Regions from separate parts of the Homo sapiens genome. Here regions 1, 2, 3, 5, 6 and 7 are each linked to region 4. The links are contacts of gene promoters, found by promoter capture Hi-C in blood cells and fetal thymus (Javierre and others, 2016). All regions are on one chromosome and are shown on one strand. The core of a region is centred on a gene start or on the middle of the fragment in contact, and the rest is flanking DNA. Distances in the headings are between cores, read along the strand shown. Region 1 overlaps SLFN5 (schlafen family member 5). Region 2 has its middle 13 kb from the start of SLFN5. Region 3 overlaps RAD51D (RAD51 paralog D). Region 4 holds the start of PEX12 (peroxisomal biogenesis factor 12). Region 5 has its middle 1.9 kb from the start of SLC35G3. Region 6 overlaps FNDC8 (fibronectin type III domain containing 8). Region 7 overlaps UNC45B (unc-45 myosin chaperone B).

Region 1 (2,700 bases), core at 166-2,665, 310 kb after region 4:
TTCCTATTCAGCCATCTTGGCTCCACCCCCGAGATCTAACTCTTATTATGGAGTGGGGAGCAGTCATTCAGTCAATAGAAGGCATTTTTTTTTTTTTTGGCAAGGAAGGATAATCCTCTTAGGCACAATGTAGCTGCCTGTCTGAAAGGTATTTGGGGCTCCAGAGTTCTCAGTATCTGCCCAAATATCCTTATGCCGTGTCTCAAGGTCCCACTGCTTCCATACCAGTGCTTTTCCCTTACTGAAAGAGATGTGATGTGGTTGCAGATTTCATTGGCATTGAACTCACCATCCGTTACAATTAGGTCCTTGGCTTGGTGCTCAGTCATATCTGCCCTGCATCTATAGAGGATGAGGGACTTGTCCAAAACTGTCATCAAGGCATTCCAGTTTTCTATGGATATTCTCAGCTGGATAGTTTTTCTTTCAATCTCAATTTTTTCGTTGTCTAAACTTCCTAGAGCTATCGAAAATGCCAATTTACAATCTTTATAATGACTATTGTTGCCATGGAAACTAAATCCCTTTCGAAACTAAATTCATAAACTGGAATTCCCAGTACCTTGTCCTCTACCTTCACTTCATCTTATGCCACCACTAGTGATAGTGTGATCTGATGTGTGTGTGTGTGTGTGTGTGTGTAAAACTAACAGCCTGAAGGATACCCACAAAAGCCATGATAGTTACTGCCTCTGGAGGAAGGGGAGATAAATTGGATGTGAAACAGAAGAAAGAAGAACACAAATTTAATTGCAATATTGCATTTCTTTTATTTAAAAAAAAAGCTTGAAGCAAATATAAAAATGTTAACACTTACATTTTTGTATATATAGACACTTTTTGTATTTTCTACATTTTTCATATGTAAACCCTCCCCACTCTCCACACATCATTATTCATTATGATCATGAGGGGTTTATCCCAGGATATTCATTGATAGAAAATTAAAAGAGTAATTTATAAAATCACTACATGAACAAGTAAAAACACACACAGCAAAATTTACATCAAAATTATTACGTGGTACAGAATCCAAAAGTCATAAAAAGCAAAAGCTATCTTTTTTTCACTCTGGCACCCATCTGTTCTTCCCTGGAGTCAAACACTATTACCAATTTTTAGGTATACTTCCAAAGATACTTACTGCATTTACAAGCACAGACTTATATTGATTCTAAAAGAATAAGAGACATTTTCAGCATGTTGTTTTGTTCAACACCACAGTATATCTTAAAGATGGTCCCCCATCAATACATATAGAGATCTCTCTTTTTTATGGCTTCATAGTATTATCATGTGCTGATATGCCAAAAACTAATCCATTAGACCCTTTTGGGTATATATTTACTATTTTGCAGTCTTCTGCTCTTAGGAATAAAGTGAAATTCAATCACCTGTATAGAAGTATTTCACACGTTTGAATATATATGTAGAATAAATTCCCAAAAGAGAAATTTCTAGAGAAAGAGATATATGCATTCACAATTTTGTTAACTACTGCCGGATTGTTCTCAGTAGAAGATGTACCAATTTACAGCAATGCATGGAAGTGCTTTCCCCCTTAAAGTTTGTTACCAATCTGAGTAATTTTGTCAATTGATACTTCTGCTATCATGAGTAATGTTTCCATATCTTTAGGAGCTATTTTAAATTCTTTTTCTGTATTCTACCACCTGTCAAATCCTTTGCTCATTTTTCCTTTGAGACCTTAGAATTTTTCTCTTCGATTTGTAGAAGCTATTTTTTGAAAATAAGAAATTAACTATTTGGCTGTGATATTCATTGCAATTCTTTTTCCAGTGTGTTGTTTCTTGACCTTTTATGCTGTTTTTGGTACAGAGATAATTTTGTTTAAAATAGTCAATATTTTCCTTCCTGGTTTCTGATTGAGGGCCATACTTAGACCTTCCCCATGCTGAGATTATTATTTTTTTAAGTGCTACTTCTTCTTCATGCACTTCCATGATTCCATATTTTTACTTTTAAAAACTTGGTCCTCCTGGAATTTATTTTGGTATCTAGTCTGGCATATGGCCCAAGCTTAATTTTTTTTAGCTGGGTGACAGAGTTGTTCATCATATATTGAATAATCCATCTTTCCCCAATTAACTTGAATTTAACATATAAAGTTAACATAACTTAACTTTAACATATGCTGTTAATACATTTCAACATGTATTTTAAATTTATTTTTGGCCATTTCATCTTGTTCCATTGACCCTCCACATATCAGCACCACATTGTTTTAATTATTGTAGCTTTATAAGATGTTTTAATATTTGGTCATGCTGACTCACTCAGGTTTCTTCTTTTCTAGATTTTTCTTGGATATTCTTGCCTCGTAGTTTCCAATAATTTTTTTTTTTTTGAGACAGGGTCTCACTCTGGCTGCCCAGACTGGAGTGCAGTGATGTGATTTTGGCTCACTACAGCCTCGACCTCCCAAGGCTTGGGTGATTCTCCCACCTCAGCCTCCCGAGTAGCTAGGACTATAGGTGCACACCACCACACCCAGCTAATTTCTTGCATTTTAAATAGAGACGGGATTTCACCATGTTGTCCAGGCTGGTCTGGAACTCCTGGACTCAGGCAATCCACCTGCCTCGGCCTCTCAAAGTGCTGGGATTACAGGAGTGAGCCACCATGCTTGGCCTTCATTAAATTTTAAAATCATTTCAATGCTATTGGGGAAAACCTGTT
Region 2 (2,700 bases), core at 75-2,574, 350 kb after region 4:
CGGTTCCCCAAAAATTCTAGATAGATAGATAGATAGATAGACAGACAGGCAGGCAGAGTGAGAAAGAAAGTGAGAATGGTAAAACAAATATATATAATGTTTTGTGGGGAGAATGAATAGGAGTTTTTTGTAGTATTCTTACGACTTTTCCATAAGTTTGAAATTATCAAAAATAAAAAATGTTTAAAACATTCTGAAGACATACATTCAGCCAACAATCATATGAAAAAAGCTCTACATCACTGATCATTAGAGAAATGCAAATCAAAACCACAATGAGCTATCATCTAACACCAGTCAGAATGGCCATTATTAAAAAGTCAAAAAATAACAGATGCTGGTGAGGTTGTGGAGAAAAAGGAACACTTATACAGTTGGTGGTAGTGTAAATTCAGCCATTGTGGAAGACAGTGTGGTGATTCCTCAAAGACATAAAAACAGAAATACCATTCAACCCAGCAATCCTATTACTGGATATATACCCAAAGGAATGTAGATCATTCTATTATACAGACACACACACGTATGTTCATTGCAGCACCACTCACAATAGCGTAGACATGGAATCAACCTAAATGCTCATCAGTAACAGACTGGATAAAGAAAATGTGGTACATATCATGGAATACTATGCAGCCATAACAATGAATGAGATCATGTCCTTTGCAGGGACATGGATGGAGCTGGAGGCCATTATCCTTAGGAAACTAACACAGGAATAGAAAACCAAATACCACATGTTCTCACTTACAAGTGGGAGCTAAATGATGAGAACACATGGACACATAGAGTGGAACAACTGGGGAGTGGAACAACTGGGGAGTGGAACATAGAGTGGAACACACACTGGGGCCTTTTGGAGGGTGGGAGGGTAGGAGGAAGGAGAGGATCAAGAAAAATAACTAATGGGTACTAGGCTTAATACCTGGGTGATGAAATAATCTGTACAACAAACCCCCATGACACAAGTTTACCTATGTAACAAACCTGCACTTATACCCATGAACTTAAAATGTTTTTTTAAAATCTTAAACAACGCTCAGAATCTTGATTGAAAGTCTTAGTGCAAAAGGGCTTGCATAACTAATATGGTTTGGGACTGTGTCCCCACACAAACCTCATGTCAAATTGTAATCCCTAGTGTCGGAGAACGGACATCGTGGGAGGTGATTAGATCAAGGGGGTGGATTTCCCCCATGCTGTTCTCATTATAATGGGTGAGTTGTCCTGAGATCTAGTTGTTTAAAAATGTGTAGCACCTCCCCCTTCCCTCTATTCATCCTGCTCCAGCCATGTAGGATGTGCTGGCTTCCCTTACACCTTCTGCCATGATTGTAAGTTTCCTGAGGTCTCCCCAGCCATGCTTCCTGTGCAGCCTGTGGTACCATGAGCCAATTCAACCTCTTTTCTTTATAAATTACCTAGTCTTAGGTAGTTCTTTATAGCAATGTGAAAACAGATTAATACAATAGCCTTCTTCTTTATCTTGAAACTCATCAAGGACACCAAGGTCATTCCACCCAAATTAAAAGTTTCCCTTTTATCTTCCAAAGTGATTTATAGTAGGAAGATGGAAGGCTGTTTACACTTTTATTGATTGCTTAGTTTTGTTCATATAGTTATACATTTTAAAATTCTTGCAGAATTAGTTTGCTAGGGCTGCCATAACAAAATATAAGACCTGGTGGCTTAAACAACACGAATTCATTTTCTCACAGTTCTAGAGGCTGGAAGTCCAAGATCAAGGTGTCAGCAGATGTTGTTTCTTCTGAGGCCTCTCTTTTTGGCTTGCAGTTGCTGCTTTCTCACTGTGCCCTCACATGATCTCCACTTCATATACATGTGCTTCCCTGGTGTCTCTTCCTCTTCTTAGGAGAATACTGATTGTATTGAATTAGGGCCCCACTCTTATGACCTTAGTTAGCTTTAATTACCTCTTTAAAGGTTCCATCTCTAAATGTATTCACATTTTGAGGTAGTGAGGGTTAGGGATTCAACATACAAATTTTGGGGAAACACAATTCATCCTATAACATAGAGTGTACCATTCTCCCTTTAATAAAGGCTACTTATATCACCACCACCCCCACACATACACCAGAAGGCAACTTTCTCTAAAAGAAAACCACTCTAAGATTCAGTCCTCTGCAGAATAATGTAAATCTCAACTCTTTTGAAAATCTGGTTAATGTTAAGCCTATAATTTTATTTTCATTTTCTTCCAACCTGAACGACTTTTCTTAAAGGGTTCATACATTTAAAGTTTTGCCTATATTTTTGGCTGGGCATGGCGGCTCATGCTGGTAATCCCAGCAGCACTTTGGGAGACTGAAGCGGGCAGATCATTTGAGCTAAGGATTTTGAGACCAGCCATGGCACCAGACATGGCAAAACCTCATATCTATTAAAAATACAAAAATTAGCTGGCCTTGGTGGGGCACTTGTAGTCTCAGCTACTCAGGAGGCTGAAGTGGGAGGATCGCTTGAGCCTGGGAGGTCGAGACTGCAGTGAGCTGTGATCATGCCACTGCACTCCAGCCTGGGTGACAGAGTAAGACCCCATCTCAAAAAATAATAAGAAGAAAATAAAATTTTGGCTAGATTTCCTTCCTTTTTTTCTGGGAGGGTTTTGAGCTTTCTTATGTTAGATTATTATGTACTTGATAGCCTCTTGAAGCTACTGAAAATAGGAGATCTATA
Region 3 (2,700 bases), core at 1-2,500, 470 kb after region 4:
AGTGGAGGGATGAAGAGAGACCAGAGAAGGCACATTTGGGCATTCCCTCCTTACCAGAAGAAAACACCAGGAGAAGCCTCCTGGCCAGTGATGTTCAAAGACAGAACCAGTGCTTGAAAGAAATGTCTTACTTTTCTTCTTGGTACCTTTTCCCCTGTCTTCCTCCTAACCTCTTGTGTTGATTTTCTTCTCTTCTGCCATCAGTCTTGATAAACTGCTTGATGCTGGTCTCTATACTGGAGAAGTGACTGAAATTGTAGGAGGCCCAGGTAGCGGCAAAACTCAGGTACATGTGAGGCCAGCAGTCAGGAGGATTTAGGGGTGAGGGTGGTAGATGCATAGCCCAGGGTCCCTGGGGGAGCTTCAGCGTACTAATGGGTTCAGAGCCCAACAGAGAGAAGATGGGTAATAAGGAATGGGGTCGGGACTCAGCCCATTTGTGTTGCTGGAATCTGGGCAAGGTTTGGTGGGGAGCTCCCATCTGGACCCTCTCTGAAGTGTCAAGTTCATCCAATGCCCCCACCCCCAGGTATGTCTCTGTATGGCAGCAAATGTGGCCCATGGCCTGCAGCAAAACGTCCTATATGTAGATTCCAATGGAGGGCTGACAGCTTCCCGCCTCCTCCAGCTGCTTCAGGCTAAAACCCAGGATGAGGAGGAACAGGTAAGGGCAGGATGCTGGGTTCCATTGAGATTCTGACACAGGAAAACCCCATTATCCCTTAACATTGTAAGAATTTGGGTTGAATAGTCATTCCTTGCCTTCAAACTTGCTGTTCTATTAATACATCTCGTATTCCTTAAGCCACCCCTGTTGATGCCATCATCCCATTTGGGATGCTACTCACACTGATTCTTCCAGGAAACCCTCCCAACTCTTTGCATGCCCTAAACCAGGGCTGGCAAACACCAAGCTTTGTGTTTCCAGTCCATTTCTCACCTGTGAGAGACATCACTAATCAGTCATATCCCTCTTTCCTGCTGAGTTCTGAGTACTTTACAGCTCAGCACCCAGGCAGCCACCACTGTGACAACTGACCATTAGACAAAGCTCATTTGCCACCCTGGACCTGAGTCCTTGCATCCAGGTGCCTCTTCCTTCTCAGCCTTACCTTGACCCCCCTACTCCCTCTTATCCAAAGTCCTTGCTTTTCTTTTCCACCGCTTCAGGCAGAAGCTCTCCGGAGGATCCAGGTGGTGCATGCATTTGACATCTTCCAGATGCTGGATGTGCTGCAGGAGCTCCGAGGCACTGTGGCCCAGCAGGTGAGCCTGCTGTTCTGCCCCTCCTTGCTTAATTCAGCTTTCTAGGTGCTATCTCTGTGGGCAGGTGTCCTACTACAGACTGTTTGGAAATGCAGATGTGCAATCTGGTGACTCCAACTATGCTTGCTACTCCCAGGATGGAATTCCCGAGCACCTAAATCACATACCTCATTGTTTACATGTTCATCTTCCCTGCTGAACAGTAAAGCCCCCTGAGTGGAAGGATCATGTCATATTTATGTCTGCATTCCCCACTAGGTGAGTGAGGAATACTTTTAGCTGCAAGTAATAGAGGTTGTCTGACAGAGACTTGAAGCTTGAGGACATTTAATTATGTCACATGAGTTGGGAGGTTGGCAGGTCCATGCTATCAGGGCAATAGATTTGTGTGTCTGATTTTCTTGTTCTTCCCCTCATGGTTGCAAAGAGGCTGCCAAAGCTCCAAGCATCTTGTCTTCACACATCCACATCCATATTCAAGGCAGTAAAAGATAGATGGTTCTTTTCTGTACCTCCTCCCTTTTATCAGGGATGAAGAATCTTTCTCCAGAGCCCACTAATAGACGTCCCTCTTCCCCTTACATCTAGTTGGCCAAAATGGGGTTATGTGTGTATCTTGGACTAAGACCTGGGCCCACCATCCCTGAAGTCAGATTTCTGCCCAGTCGCTGAACACATTCAGAGTCATGTTAATGGGAAGGATTTAGAATGGCATTTGGGTTGGCACTTTGCTACTCATGTTGGGTGCTTAGACAGGATTTGGTGCACTGATTTATAAATGACTAGATGTGGAGGATACCTTAAAGATAGAATAGTTTATCTCAAACTTTTCCTCTCACCCCAAAGCATGACGTGTTCACACGGGCATCCCCACGACTATATATAAAGTCAATGATTTTTACAAACTTTAGAACATATAATAGTTGAACAAGCTGGGAGTGGTGGCCCACACCTGTAATCCTAATGACTCCAGAGGCTGAGACGGGAGGATTGCTTGAGCCTAGCAGTTGGAGGTTGCAGTGAGCTATGATCATACCACTGTACCTTAGCCTGGTCAGCAGAGCTAGACCCCGTCTTTAAAAAAAAATGTTGAACAAATACTTACCTCAGAAGTCATAGCTGGTTATGACCCACCAGCTTGTTGAGACATGAAGCTGAGTAGTGCTTACCTCACTTTTAGAGATGAGAAGAGTGAAGGCCGGAGAAGTGAAGTGAGTTGACCAAAGTTGACCAAATATTTAGGGCAAGAACTAACCTTATAGCCCAAACCTCTCAATTCCAGATCAGAAGACTGTATTTTTTACTGTAGGACCATTAGATGATATATCTTCTATTATTGCATAATAAGTTACCAAAACCTTAGTGGCTTAAGACATAGTATTTCTTATCTCACAGTTTCTAGGGGTTAAGAATCTGAGACTAGGAGCGGTGGCT
Region 4 (2,700 bases), core at 201-2,700:
CTGTTCTTTCAGGGCTGGCTTTACTTATTTTGTGAGCTACTCCATACACTTCTAATAAATTCCGTTTTAGTTTAAATTAGCCTGTTTGTTTCTGTTGCTTGTAACCAAAGATCCCTAAGTGACAAAAATGTTTAATTTCCTGCTTGATTTAGTTGATGCTACCTCTCAACTTTGTATTTTTGCTATTCACTTAAGAAAAGCTTGTACATAACAGTTACTATTAAACAAGCACCTAATATGTATCCAGGTGCTTCATATGGATAAACTATGTCTAGTCTTAAAACTCTGTAAGGTAAAAATCATATATCAATATAATGTCTTTTGGTAGAGTAAAAAACACTTTTTATAACTATAATTAAGGACAATTTGTAAGGTTTTCTCTCCTATTGGAATAACTAAATCCAAACCTTGTTTTTGAGGGTTCTCATTATGCAAACCAATTATTTTTATAACATAAGGGCCTCTAGGGCAGTAAACAATACCTTCTATTCCCAGCTATTTAGCCCAGAGGTGGCACTTCCCAGAGGAAGGGAGGAGAGGTGGAACTCTCATCCAAATTCAATAAGGCTGTGTCAGCCAACTTCAGCGAGACAAAGCTGTACATAACATAAAAGCACTTTACAAACCTTAAGGTAAATCACATTCATTTTGGTATAAAAACGGCATGAAAGGAAACTTTCTGTCAAGTGTCCCCAGTGCATGCTAGTTACAATTCATAAAGCTCCCTCTGCGTTAGTACTGTATTCATATCGCTGGTGGTGACATATACAACTGTGTTCAAGGATGGAGACCATTTTCATCCAGTATAGCAAGTGCATGCAGTTATGCTTGAATATAGCCAAAACCTGGAAGACGTTAAACTACCAGCTTGGATGAAAATTAACCGTCTCAAGTACTGAGGAACAAGCATGAACCTTTCTCAATCCAATCATCTTTCCTTATAATTGGCGGCAATAAATCTAAGGCTCCTATCTCCTGCTATGTCGCTTTAAATCATTTCTGGAAGGCTAAGACATATAAATTAACCACCATCCCTGCCGCACGCGTACAGCAAAGTCCTTTCCACCTCCAGATTCCCTTCCTCCCACCGCCCCTAGCTTCATCGCCTGCAGGAACACAGGGCTCAGCAACGGGCCCGAGCTCTGGCTCCCGGCGCCAGACGTCTGCGCGGTGCCCCAAACAGCTTGTCAAAAAGACCTCGCAGAGAGAGGTTCAGAGCTGTAGCTTTCCAGCGAGGCTACCATGCAGACCCAGCTACGAAAAGTAAACCAAACTAGCCAAAACCAGCCCACAAGGGCCCTCTTCTGTTTCAGCGGGGCGGGAGCGGAAGCTCAGGTGGGTCATAGAGTTCTCTAGTTCTGGTTTCCGGACCGCATTCGGAACTAGAGCGCCTCTCTTCCGCCAGGCATCCCAGAGGTCCTGGTGGTTTCATTTCCGGGTGCGGCTTCTGTCATAAAGCGGAGACCTCCCTTCAAACGTGGCGTCGTGGGTTGTTTGCGCCTCGCCTGGGGTCAGCGAGCAAGGACGGGCGCGGGCGGGGATACTCAAAGCCAACAGCTGGAGTCAGCCCTTGTGTCCCGGGCTCACAGTGGCACGACTGAATCCTCAGAGTCGGCTGGCTTTTGAGCTCTCACGATTGGGGAGGAGGGGGCGTTTCTGGTTCGCAGCTCCAGAGGATTGCGTTCCTTCCCCCATACCTGTCCCCCACAGTCACGCTCTGCCCTGACGTGCAGCATTTGACAAGTTACCCCCTCGCCACATACTACTTCCACCCACGTCCGAGTTAACTTTGTTCTTAACCTTCTTGAGACTACCCTCGGCCTCCAGGTCTTTTTTTCCCAGTTCATTTTTGCCCATAAGATTGAGTTTCGAGTTTCAGATATCATGCAGAAAGTTTACCTTTAAGACTGAGCACCCATCTGATACTCTTCCTCCCGAAAAAGTTCATGCTCACGAGAGAGTTTGTGGGAAAAGTGAAAGCCAGTACACGCAGGAAACTATGGCTGAGCACGGGGCTCACTTCACAGCTGCTTCTGTGGCCGATGACCAGCCATCCATCTTTGAGGTGGTAGCACAGGACAGTTTAATGACAGCAGTGAGACCCGCTCTTCAGCATGTGGTCAAGGTAAGGTATTAATTCTTGGAAAGGTTTTAGGGACAACTGGGTAAAAAACAAACGAATAATTTGTGCTTATTTGGTAGCCTAGCGTTTGAAATAGCCAATTTGCAAATAACTTGTATCCCATGACTTAAGAGTTACTGAGTCTCTGTTATGTGTAGAGACCTGTACTGAATACCCAGCATTTCAGGGTCCAACAGTGACTTATTTAAAACAAATTGTGTAGACTTTAGAGGAAAAGGGGGAATGTAAATAGGTGTAGAACTTGTGTAATGGAATGAATTTCACTTATTGCTTTATTTTGCTTTAGGTTCTTGCAGAATCAAATCCCACCCACTATGGCTTCTTGTGGAGGTGGTTTGATGAAATCTTTACTCTGCTAGATCTTCTGCTCCAGCAACATTATCTGTCTAGAACCAGTGCCTCATTTTCTGAAAACTTTTACGGCTTAAAGAGAATTGTAATGGGGGACACTCACAAGTCTCAGAGATTGGCTAGTGCTGGTCTCCCAAAGCAGCAGCTTTGGAAATCTATTATGTTCCTGGTTCTTCTTCCCTATCTGAAAGTGAAGCTGGAGAAGC
Region 5 (2,700 bases), core at 1-2,500, 380 kb after region 4:
GGGAGGCCAAGGTGGAAGAACTGCTTGAGCCGAGGAGTTCACCTCTACCAAAAAAAAAAAAATTTTTTTACCAGGTTTGTCAATGCATGCCTGAGGTACCAGCTACTCCAGGAGCTGAGGTAGGAGGATTGCTTGTTTGGGCTCAGGAGTTTGAGGCTGCAGTGAGCCATGATTGTGACATTCATTCCAGCCTGGGAAAGAGAATGAAACCATGCCTCAAAAAAAAACAAAAAACATTAAAATTCATACAAAACTGCAAAAAAAAAAAAAAAAAAAAAGCCAAGGCAATCGTGAGCAAAAAGAAAAAAAGCTGGAGATATTTGCTTCAGAGCTCTCTGAAGTTGAAAAAACTGGAGGTATCACACTATCTGATTTTAAACTATACTACAAAGCTATACTAATTAAAATAGTATGAAATAATCGCTTCTCTGCCTTTTGGCTAAGATCAAGTAAGTGTAAAACAGCATGGAATTGGCAAAAAAGAAAAAGACACATCAACCAATGGAACAGAATAGAAAGCCCAGAGATGAATCTGATTTTCAACAAATATGCCAAGAAGAAAAAGACCGCTTTTTTCAATAAATGGTGTAGGGAAAACTGAATTTCCACATGCAGAAAAAGAAAATTGGACCCTTATTTCAACACCATATACAAAAGTTAGTTCAAAATGGATTACATACTTAAACATTCCTGCATTAGTTTGCTCAGGAAAATTGCCAACAAAAAAAAAAAAAAAAAAAAAAAAAGGAAAGAAAGAAAAAAAAGAGACCTTTAAGACCAAGAACCTAAAACTGCTAGAAGAAAACATAGGGGATCAGCTGACAGCCTCCTTTAAAAAAAAAAAAAAAAAAGAAAGAAAACATAGGGGAAACATACAAGACATTGGTCTGGGTAATGATTTTTTGGATTTGTTCCCAAAAGCACAGACAACAAAATTAAATATAGACAAATGGTATCATATCAAAGTAAAAAGCTTCTTGGTTCATGATGTGTAGCTAAAACAAACAAACTAAAAACCTTCTGCACAGCAAACAATCAACAGAGTAAAGAGATAACCTATGGAATGGGAGAAAATATTTGCAAGCCAGACATCTGATAAGGGGTTAATATCCAACACATATAAAGAGCTCAAACAACTCAATAGCAACAAAACAAAACAAAAAAGCAATTAAGACCTGCTTTCTGCTGACCAAGTCTTCTTCCTTACCCCTCCCTAATAAGAAGAAAAAAAGGCAATTAAAAGATGGGTAACTCCTCCTTAGTATAGTGGTAAAATTTAAACATTAAAAAAGTTTTGGGACCAGTCTGGTCACTCACACCTGTAATCCCAGCACTTTCGAAGGCCAAGGTGGGCAGATTGCCTGAGCCCAGGAGTTCAAGACTAGCCTGGGCAACATAATAAAACACTGTCTCTACAAAAAAAAAAAAAAAATTAGCTGGGCTTGAGCCATGTTTGTGTCACTGCACTTGAGCCTGGGTGAGAGAGCGAGACCCTGTCTCAAAAAAAAAAAAAAAAAAAAAAGCTTTAAGTTGTAAAAAAAAGTGGGTAAGATCAAAAGAAGAGAAGGAAAGAAAACAATGTATAAGATACCTGAGCTCTCCCTCTCCCTCTCCCTCTCCCCACGGTCTCCGTTTCCCTGTCTTTCCACGGTCTCCCTCTGATGCGGAGCCGAAGCTGGACTGTACTGCTGCCATCTCGGCTCACTGCAACCTCCCTGCCTGATTCTCCTGCCTCAGCCTGCGATTGCAGGTGCGCACCGCCACGCCTGACTGGTTTTCGTATTTTTTTGGTGGAGACGGGGTTTCGCTGTGTTGGCCAGGCTGGTCTCCAGCTCCTAACCACGAGTGATCTGCCAACCTCGGCCTCCCGAGGTGCCGGGATTGCAGACGGAGTCTCATTCACTCAGTGCTCAATGTTGCCCAGGCTGGAGAGCAGTGGCGTGATCTCGGCTAGCTACAACCTCCACCTCCCAGCCGCCTGCCTTGGCCTCCCAAAGTGCCGAGATTGCAGCCTCTGCCCAGCCGCCACCCCGCCTGGGAAGTGAGGAGCGTCTCCGCCTGGCCGCCCATTGTCTGGGATGTGAGGAGCCCCTCTGCCCGGCTGCCCAGTCTGGGAAGTGAGGAGCGCCTCTTCCCGGCCGCCATCCCATCTAGGAAGTGAGGAGCGCCTCTTCCCGGCCGCCATCCCGTCTAGGAAGTGAGGAGCGTCTCTGCCCGGGGGCCCATCGTCTGAGATGTGGGGAGCGCCTCTGCCTGGCCGCGACCCCATCTGGGAGGTGAGGAGCGTCTCTGCCCGGCCGCCCCATCTGAGAAGTGAGGAGCCCCTCCGCCCCGCAGCTGCCCCATCTGAGAAGTGAGGAGCCCCTCCGCCCGGCAGCCGCCCCGTCTGAGAAGTGAGGAGCCCCTCCACCCGGCAGCCGCCCCGTCTGGGAAGTGAGGAGCTTCTCTGCCCGGCAGCCGCCCCGTCCAGGAGGGAGGTGGGGGGCAGCCCCCGCCGGGCAAGCTGCCCCGTCTGGGAGGGAGGTGGGGGGTCAGCCCCCGCCCGGCCGCTGCCCCGTCCGGGAGGTGGGGGGCACCGCTGCCCGGCCGCCCCTTCTGGGAAGTGAGGAGCCCCTCTGCCCGGCCACCACCCCGTCTGGGAGGTGTACCCAACAGCTCATTGAGAACGGGCCATGATGACGGTGGTGGTTTTGTGGAATA
Region 6 (2,700 bases), core at 32-2,531, 450 kb after region 4:
CCAGGGGTCCTCAACCCTTGGGCCACCAACTGATAGCAGTCCATGGCCTGTTAGGAACTGGATAGCACAGCAGGAGGAGATTGGTGGGCGAGCAAGCGAAGCTTCATCTGTATTTACAGCTGCTCCCCACGGCTCAGGGTACCACCTGAGCTCTGCCTCCTGTCAGATCAGCAGAGGCATTAGATTCCCATAGGCACGTGAACCCTATTGTGAATTGTATGGGAGGGATCTAAGTTGAATGCTCCTTATGAGAATCTAATGCCTGATGATCTGTCATTGTCTCCCATCACCCCCAAATGGGACCCTCTCGTTGCAGGAAAACAAGCTCAGGGCTCCCACAGTTTCTACATTATGGTGAGTTGTATAATTATTTCATTATATATTACAATGTAATAATAATAGAAATAAAGTACACAATAAATGTAATATGCTTGACTCATCCTGAAACCATCCCCCCAACCGGATCCATGGAAAAATTATCTTCCATGAAACCAGTCCCTGGTGCCAAAAAGGTTGGTTCTAGACTCTGTCTAGACTCTGTTAGCTGAGAGGGACCTTAGAGATCATCTTATCGACTAGGTCCAGAGAGGGCAAGTGACTGGTCCATCATCATACGGCAATTAAGTGACAGCCAGTGTTCAAACCCATAGCTCCAGAGCCCATACACTTTGTACTACAATGGTTGCCAAGCCTGGCTAAGCATCTCAGGGAGATTTTGTAACTGCAGATTTCTGGGCCTGCTGCCTCCTGTCTGGTTTCTCCTCCATCTAGGCCAGTGTTTGTCAAACTTGGTGTGCATTAGAATACCCTGGAGGACTTATTAAAAGATAGATTACTGGGCTCCGCCCCAACAGTTTCTGACTCAGGAGGCCCAAATGTGGTGGAGGGAGATGAGAATTTAAATTTGTAACAATTTGCTGAGTGATGCTGACATTGTCCATCTGGAGAGCACTTTGAGAAACACTGCTCTGGGCCATCCAACAGTGGAATTCCAGGCATCCTCCCAAGATACAGCTCGAATTGCTTTCATCATCTGATGTGAAGCTTTTTACAAAGCTGTTCCCTATTACTTACAGAAAAGTCTATAAAGTAGTCTAACACTGGAGGACTCTGGAAGATGATCCCAGACTAACATTCCCCATCCTGTCCCCTGTCTTCACTTCCCATAGTGTAGGACGGTGTTGTTCGACGTGTAGCCCGCGGACGGGGAGCCACAGCATCCTCTGGGAATCTGTTACTAATGCAAATTATCAGGCTTCACCCTAGACCCTCTAGGGAGGAGGCCCAGCAATTCTGAGTAGCCTCACTCGATCCCAGGTCCTCATCCAGGGCTTCTCACGCTTTCATGTTCCTACAGATCACCTACCATCTTGTTCAAATTGAGATTTCCTCCCTCACTTTCCTGTGAGCTTTTGCTAGGGTCCGCCCCTCCAGGGAATGCCTCCCTCCTCCACCTCTAGATGTTTACATGCTACCTCTACATCCCAGCTCAGATGTTACCAAAAGCCACCAAGCTTATTCCCGCATCTGGAAATATCTTTCCCTCTGAATTCCTGGTGGCACTTGCTCTGAACTTTTCCTACAGCACTGAACCCTTTCTGTCTTGCACTGGAGTTTTTACAGACACATCCTCTCCCTTCCTAAACCGTGAACTTGAGGTCGACATGCAGGTGGCAGGCACCTTCTCACTACCCATGGAGCTCAGCTCAGTGCCTGGCACAATAAGCCTCTGCTGAACGCATGAGCAAGGGAAACGCACCACAGCTGTGGAATTGTTGACGGTGTGCTCAAAGATGAAGGGGGTGTCCGGCAGGTCCACAACCACAGAAGATTCTGAGTGCGTTGAGGAGGTTTCTGTCTCCAGCTCAGGGTTGTCAAGGTCCAGCAGGCCCCTTGTGGCCATCTGGGACTTCGATGGGCATGGGCAGGGGCCGAGCGCCAGGTCCTCATTTTCTGCATTCTTGGCCATTGGGGAGAAGCTGAGTTTGTTCAGCTCCCCCTCCAGCATCCCTGCAAAGAAGCTGCTGTTGGGCTGGGTCACAGCTAATTTGATGGGGTTCAGCAAGGTGGATGAGAAGGCAGAGATGCTGGTCTCATCAGAGCTGCAGTCTGAATCCTCTACTGGCAGCGGCTTCCTGGAGCAAAAGGGGAGACAGGTGAATCAGATGAAGGAGGCCACCCCAGCCCGTTCCACCTGAGGGCAGGCCTTGGGCCTGACTTACCAGCATCCCCAGCCATTTGCAAACAGCTTGGAACAGCCTCATTGCTCTATAGCATTGCATTAGACTCACCAGGGCACTTACTAAAAATGCAGACTTTTAGTCCCTGGTCCCCAGTTAGCATGGGACTAGAGAATCCGCATCTTTAATAAGATCCTGGCTGGGCGCAGTGGCTCACGCCTATAATCCCAGCACTTTGGGAGGCCGAGGCAGGCAGATTCAAGGTCAGGAGTTACAGACCAGCCTGGCCAACATGGTGAAACCCTGTCTCCACTAAAAACACAAAAATTGGCTGAGTGCGGTGGTTGGCACCTGTAATCCTAGCTACTTGGTAGGCTGAGGCAGGAGAATTGCTTGAACCCAGGGGGCAGAAGTTGCAGTGAGCCGAGATCACACCACTGCACTCCAGCCTGGGTGACAGAGTGAAACTCTATCTCAAAAAAAAAAAAAAAAAAAAAAAGCTTAGAAAATCCTGATGCAA
Region 7 (2,700 bases), core at 9-2,508, 400 kb after region 4:
TTCACCAGATGGGTATCATTTGTCCCATGACTGGACCATGAAGCCTACGGCATGTTCTGAATTCATTTTATTTTTATAAACCCTGTAATTATTCTGTGCTGAGTACAGTTATATTGCATTGCAATTTCTATGGGAACAGTGGTAGTTCATTAAATGCTGACATTTGAGACATCCTAAAATGGCTGATAACTGTATTTGGCATTTCTTCATTTTTTTTATATATGTGGAGCTTCAATAAATGCAAGTGGTCTAGCCTTCCTTGACCTCTGAGAGGCCCTGGTCTCATATCCTGCTTTGTTTTAAGGTTATTTGGGCCTAAGTAACTTAGGGAAATGGTGCCTTCCACCTCATCTAGCCCAGGGTCTGGATTGAAAGCCCCAGCTTTGTATTTTTTCCTTTATGCATATCTTTCTCTCAGGGCCCCTACAGGGAGGGGGGCTATAATCTAGGAAATATTTAGGGATTCCTGGATTTTCTGCCCAAAATGCTACCTTAATGCCATCATAAGAGCTCCCGATCTCACCCCAGGCCCTGACCCTGGCCTGCCTCTCGTGCCTTGATCACGCCCGGGTCTCCATCCTGAGCCCCTGCCTCACCTCCTTGTGGAGCACCATGTTGCACATGCACTCGGTGGCCGCCTGCCGCAGCTGATCATGATTCTCAAACATGTAGTTCTCGATGTCTGGCAAGGCCCTCTCCTTAAAGATCTTCTGCCTAGGGTAGGAGGGTGGAGGAAGAAAGACCCTTGAGTCTTCTGCCGTGACCATAGGGGTTTTCTGGCCACCCAGGGACCATTCTTCCATTCTGGTGCTGTCCTTCCCACATCCTCAGCCAGCATGGTTTATGTGGCATCACACTGCCCCCAGCTCTAGGAGGGGCACCATGGGCCTCAACTAAATTGTATAGCATGGCATCCTGGCCACAGCAGTGGGTTCTGGATATCACCCAACTGGAGAGCCTCTGTATTATTGCAGTAAAGAAATTCTCTCTCTCTCTCTCTCTCTCTCTCTCTCTCTCTCATCCTGGATGTAGATCCAAGAAGATGTGAAGGCCAGAACTGCCCTTATAACCATGAGAGAGCAGAAAAGCCCATTGAGAATTAAAGCAATACAGAAAGGAGAGGAGAGACAGAGAGAACAGGAACCTAAGGCAGCTTTGTAAGCCCTGCATCAAGCCACACCTGAATCTTGTTACCCCAGACTTTTTATCTACATGAGCCAATAAATTTCCTTTATGCTTAGGCCTATTATAGTTAAGTTTTCTGCTACTGGCAACCAAAAGAATCCCAACCCAGTACATGCTGACATACTCCTGCTTCCAAAGAGGAATACATTTTATCCCACTATCCACCTGGATATCTTTTTTTTTTTAATACTTTAAGTTCTAGGGTACATGTGCACAACGTGCAGGTTTGTTACATAGGTATACATGTGCGTGCCATGTTGGCTTGCTGCGCCCATCAACTCGTCATTTACATTAGGGTATTTCTCCTAATGTTATCCCTCCCCCAGCTCCCCACCCCCAACAGGCCCCGGTGTGTGATGTTCCCCGCCCTGTGTCCATGTGTTCTCATTGTTCAACTCCCACCTACGAGTGAGAACATGCGGTGTTTGGTTTTCTGTCCTTGTGGTAGTTTGCTCAGAATGATGGTTTCCAGTTTCATCTATGTCCCTGCAAAGGACATGAACTCATCCTTTTTTATGGCTGCATAGTATTCCATGGTGCATATGTGTCACATTTTCTTAATCCAATCTATCATTGATGGACATTTGGGTTGGTTCCAAGTCTTTGCTATTGTGAATAGTGCCACAATAAACATACGTGTGCATGTGTCTTTATAGTAGCATGATTTATAGTCCTTTGGGTATATACCCAGCAATGGGATTGCTGGGTCAAATGTTATTTCTAGTTCTAGATCCTTGAGAGCCAAATCATGAGTGAACTCCCATTCACAACTGCTACCAACAGAATAAAATACCTAGGAATCCAATTTACAAGGGATGTGAAGGACCTCTTCAAGGAGAACTACAAACCACTGCTCAACAAAATAAAAGAGGACACAAACAAATGGAAGAACATTCCATGCTCATGGATTGGAAGAATCAATATCATGAAAATGGCCATACTGCCCAAGATAGTTTATGGATTCAATGCCATTCCCATGAAGCTACCAATGACTTTCTTCACAGAATTGGAAAAAACTACTTTAAAGTTCATATGGAACCAAGAAAGAGCAGGCATAGCCAAGACAACCCTAAGCAAAAAGAACAAAGCTGGAGGCATCATCAGGGTCAGGTATCACGCTACCTGACTTCAAACTATACTACAAGGCTACAGTAACCAAAACAGCATGGTACTGGTACCAAAACAGATATATAGACCAATGGAACAGAACAGAGGCCTCAGAAATAACACCACACATCTACAACCATCTGATCTTTGACAAACCTGACAAAAACAAGAAATGATGAAAGGATTCCCTATTTAATAAATAGTGCTGGGAAAACTAGCTAGCCATATGTAGAAAGCTGAAACTGGATCCCTTCCTTACACCTTATACAAAAATTAACTCAAGATGGATTAAAGACTTAAATGTAAGATCTAAAACCATAAAAACCCTAGAAGAAAACCTAGGCAATACCATTCAGGACATAGGCATGGGCAAAGACTTCATGACTAAAACACCAAAAGCAATGGCAA

What was found. The method cuts DNA at HindIII sites, captures the fragments that hold promoters and counts their contacts. A CHiCAGO score of 5 or more calls a contact.
Region 1: a contact is called between a fragment that was not itself captured here and the fragment with the promoter of PEX12 in region 4, in 7 of 17 cell types (naive CD4 T cells, total CD8 T cells, non-activated CD4 T cells and 4 more). The highest score is 11.6, in naive CD4 T cells.
Region 2: a contact is called between a fragment that was not itself captured here and the fragment with the promoter of PEX12 in region 4, in 5 of 17 cell types (naive CD4 T cells, activated CD4 T cells, total CD8 T cells and 2 more). The highest score is 11.5, in naive CD4 T cells.
Region 3: a fragment that was not itself captured here is called in contact with the fragment with the promoter of PEX12 in region 4 in 1 of 17 cell types (naive CD4 T cells); the score reaches 5.3 in naive CD4 T cells.
Region 5: a contact is called between a fragment that was not itself captured here and the fragment with the promoter of PEX12 in region 4, in 1 of 17 cell types (total CD8 T cells). The highest score is 5.5, in total CD8 T cells.
Region 6: a fragment that was not itself captured here is called in contact with the fragment with the promoter of PEX12 in region 4 in 6 of 17 cell types (naive CD4 T cells, total CD8 T cells, activated CD4 T cells and 3 more); the score reaches 11.9 in naive CD4 T cells.
Region 7: a contact is called between a fragment that was not itself captured here and the fragment with the promoter of PEX12 in region 4, in 11 of 17 cell types (naive CD4 T cells, activated CD4 T cells, total CD4 T cells and 8 more). The highest score is 18.0, in naive CD4 T cells.

The regions. Positions count from the first base shown.
Region 1 is chr17:35,271,701-35,274,400 of GRCh38, reverse strand. SLFN5 (schlafen family member 5) reads right to left here. Exons shown (of 5, transcript NM_144975.4): 5 at 746-2,700. Among named protein-coding and RNA genes, the nearest start is that of SLFN5, 30 kb to the right of the region's middle. The HindIII fragment of the contact is 1,255 bases long and covers 788-2,042 here.
Region 2 is chr17:35,228,940-35,231,639 of GRCh38, reverse strand. No RefSeq gene overlaps it. Among named protein-coding and RNA genes, the nearest start is that of SLFN5, 13 kb to the left of the region's middle. The HindIII fragment of the contact is 3,355 bases long and covers 1-2,700 here.
Region 3 is chr17:35,104,952-35,107,651 of GRCh38, reverse strand. RAD51D (RAD51 paralog D) reads left to right here. Exons shown (of 10, transcript NM_002878.4): 4 at 205-286; 5 at 530-664; 6 at 1,171-1,266. RAD51L3-RFFL (RAD51L3-RFFL readthrough) reads left to right here. Exons shown (of 7, transcript NR_037714.1): 2 at 1,171-1,266. Among named protein-coding and RNA genes, the nearest start is that of RAD51D, 14 kb to the left of the region's middle. The HindIII fragment of the contact is 668 bases long and covers 917-1,584 here.
Region 4 is chr17:35,577,321-35,580,020 of GRCh38, reverse strand. PEX12 (peroxisomal biogenesis factor 12) reads left to right here and starts at 1,450. Exons shown (of 3, transcript NM_000286.3): 1 at 1,450-2,125; 2 at 2,430-2,700. The coding sequence starts at 2,000. RefSeq lists an enhancer at 1,371-2,186. The HindIII fragment of the contact is 3,440 bases long and covers 203-2,700 here.
Region 5 is chr17:35,194,939-35,197,638 of GRCh38, reverse strand. No RefSeq gene overlaps it. Among named protein-coding and RNA genes, the nearest start is that of SLC35G3, 1.9 kb to the right of the region's middle. The HindIII fragment of the contact is 550 bases long and covers 976-1,525 here.
Region 6 is chr17:35,126,477-35,129,176 of GRCh38, reverse strand. It overlaps FNDC8 (fibronectin type III domain containing 8), which reads right to left. Exons shown (of 4, transcript NM_017559.4): 2 at 1,760-2,135. It overlaps NLE1 (notchless homolog 1), which reads left to right. Exons shown (of 13, transcript NM_018096.5): 13 at 1-447. Among named protein-coding and RNA genes, the nearest start is that of FNDC8, 6.2 kb to the right of the region's middle. The HindIII fragment of the contact is 470 bases long and covers 1,047-1,516 here.
Region 7 is chr17:35,178,573-35,181,272 of GRCh38, reverse strand. UNC45B (unc-45 myosin chaperone B) reads right to left here. Exons shown (of 20, transcript NM_001267052.2): 18 at 597-714. Among named protein-coding and RNA genes, the nearest start is that of SLC35G3, 14 kb to the left of the region's middle. The HindIII fragment of the contact is 8,641 bases long and covers 1-2,700 here.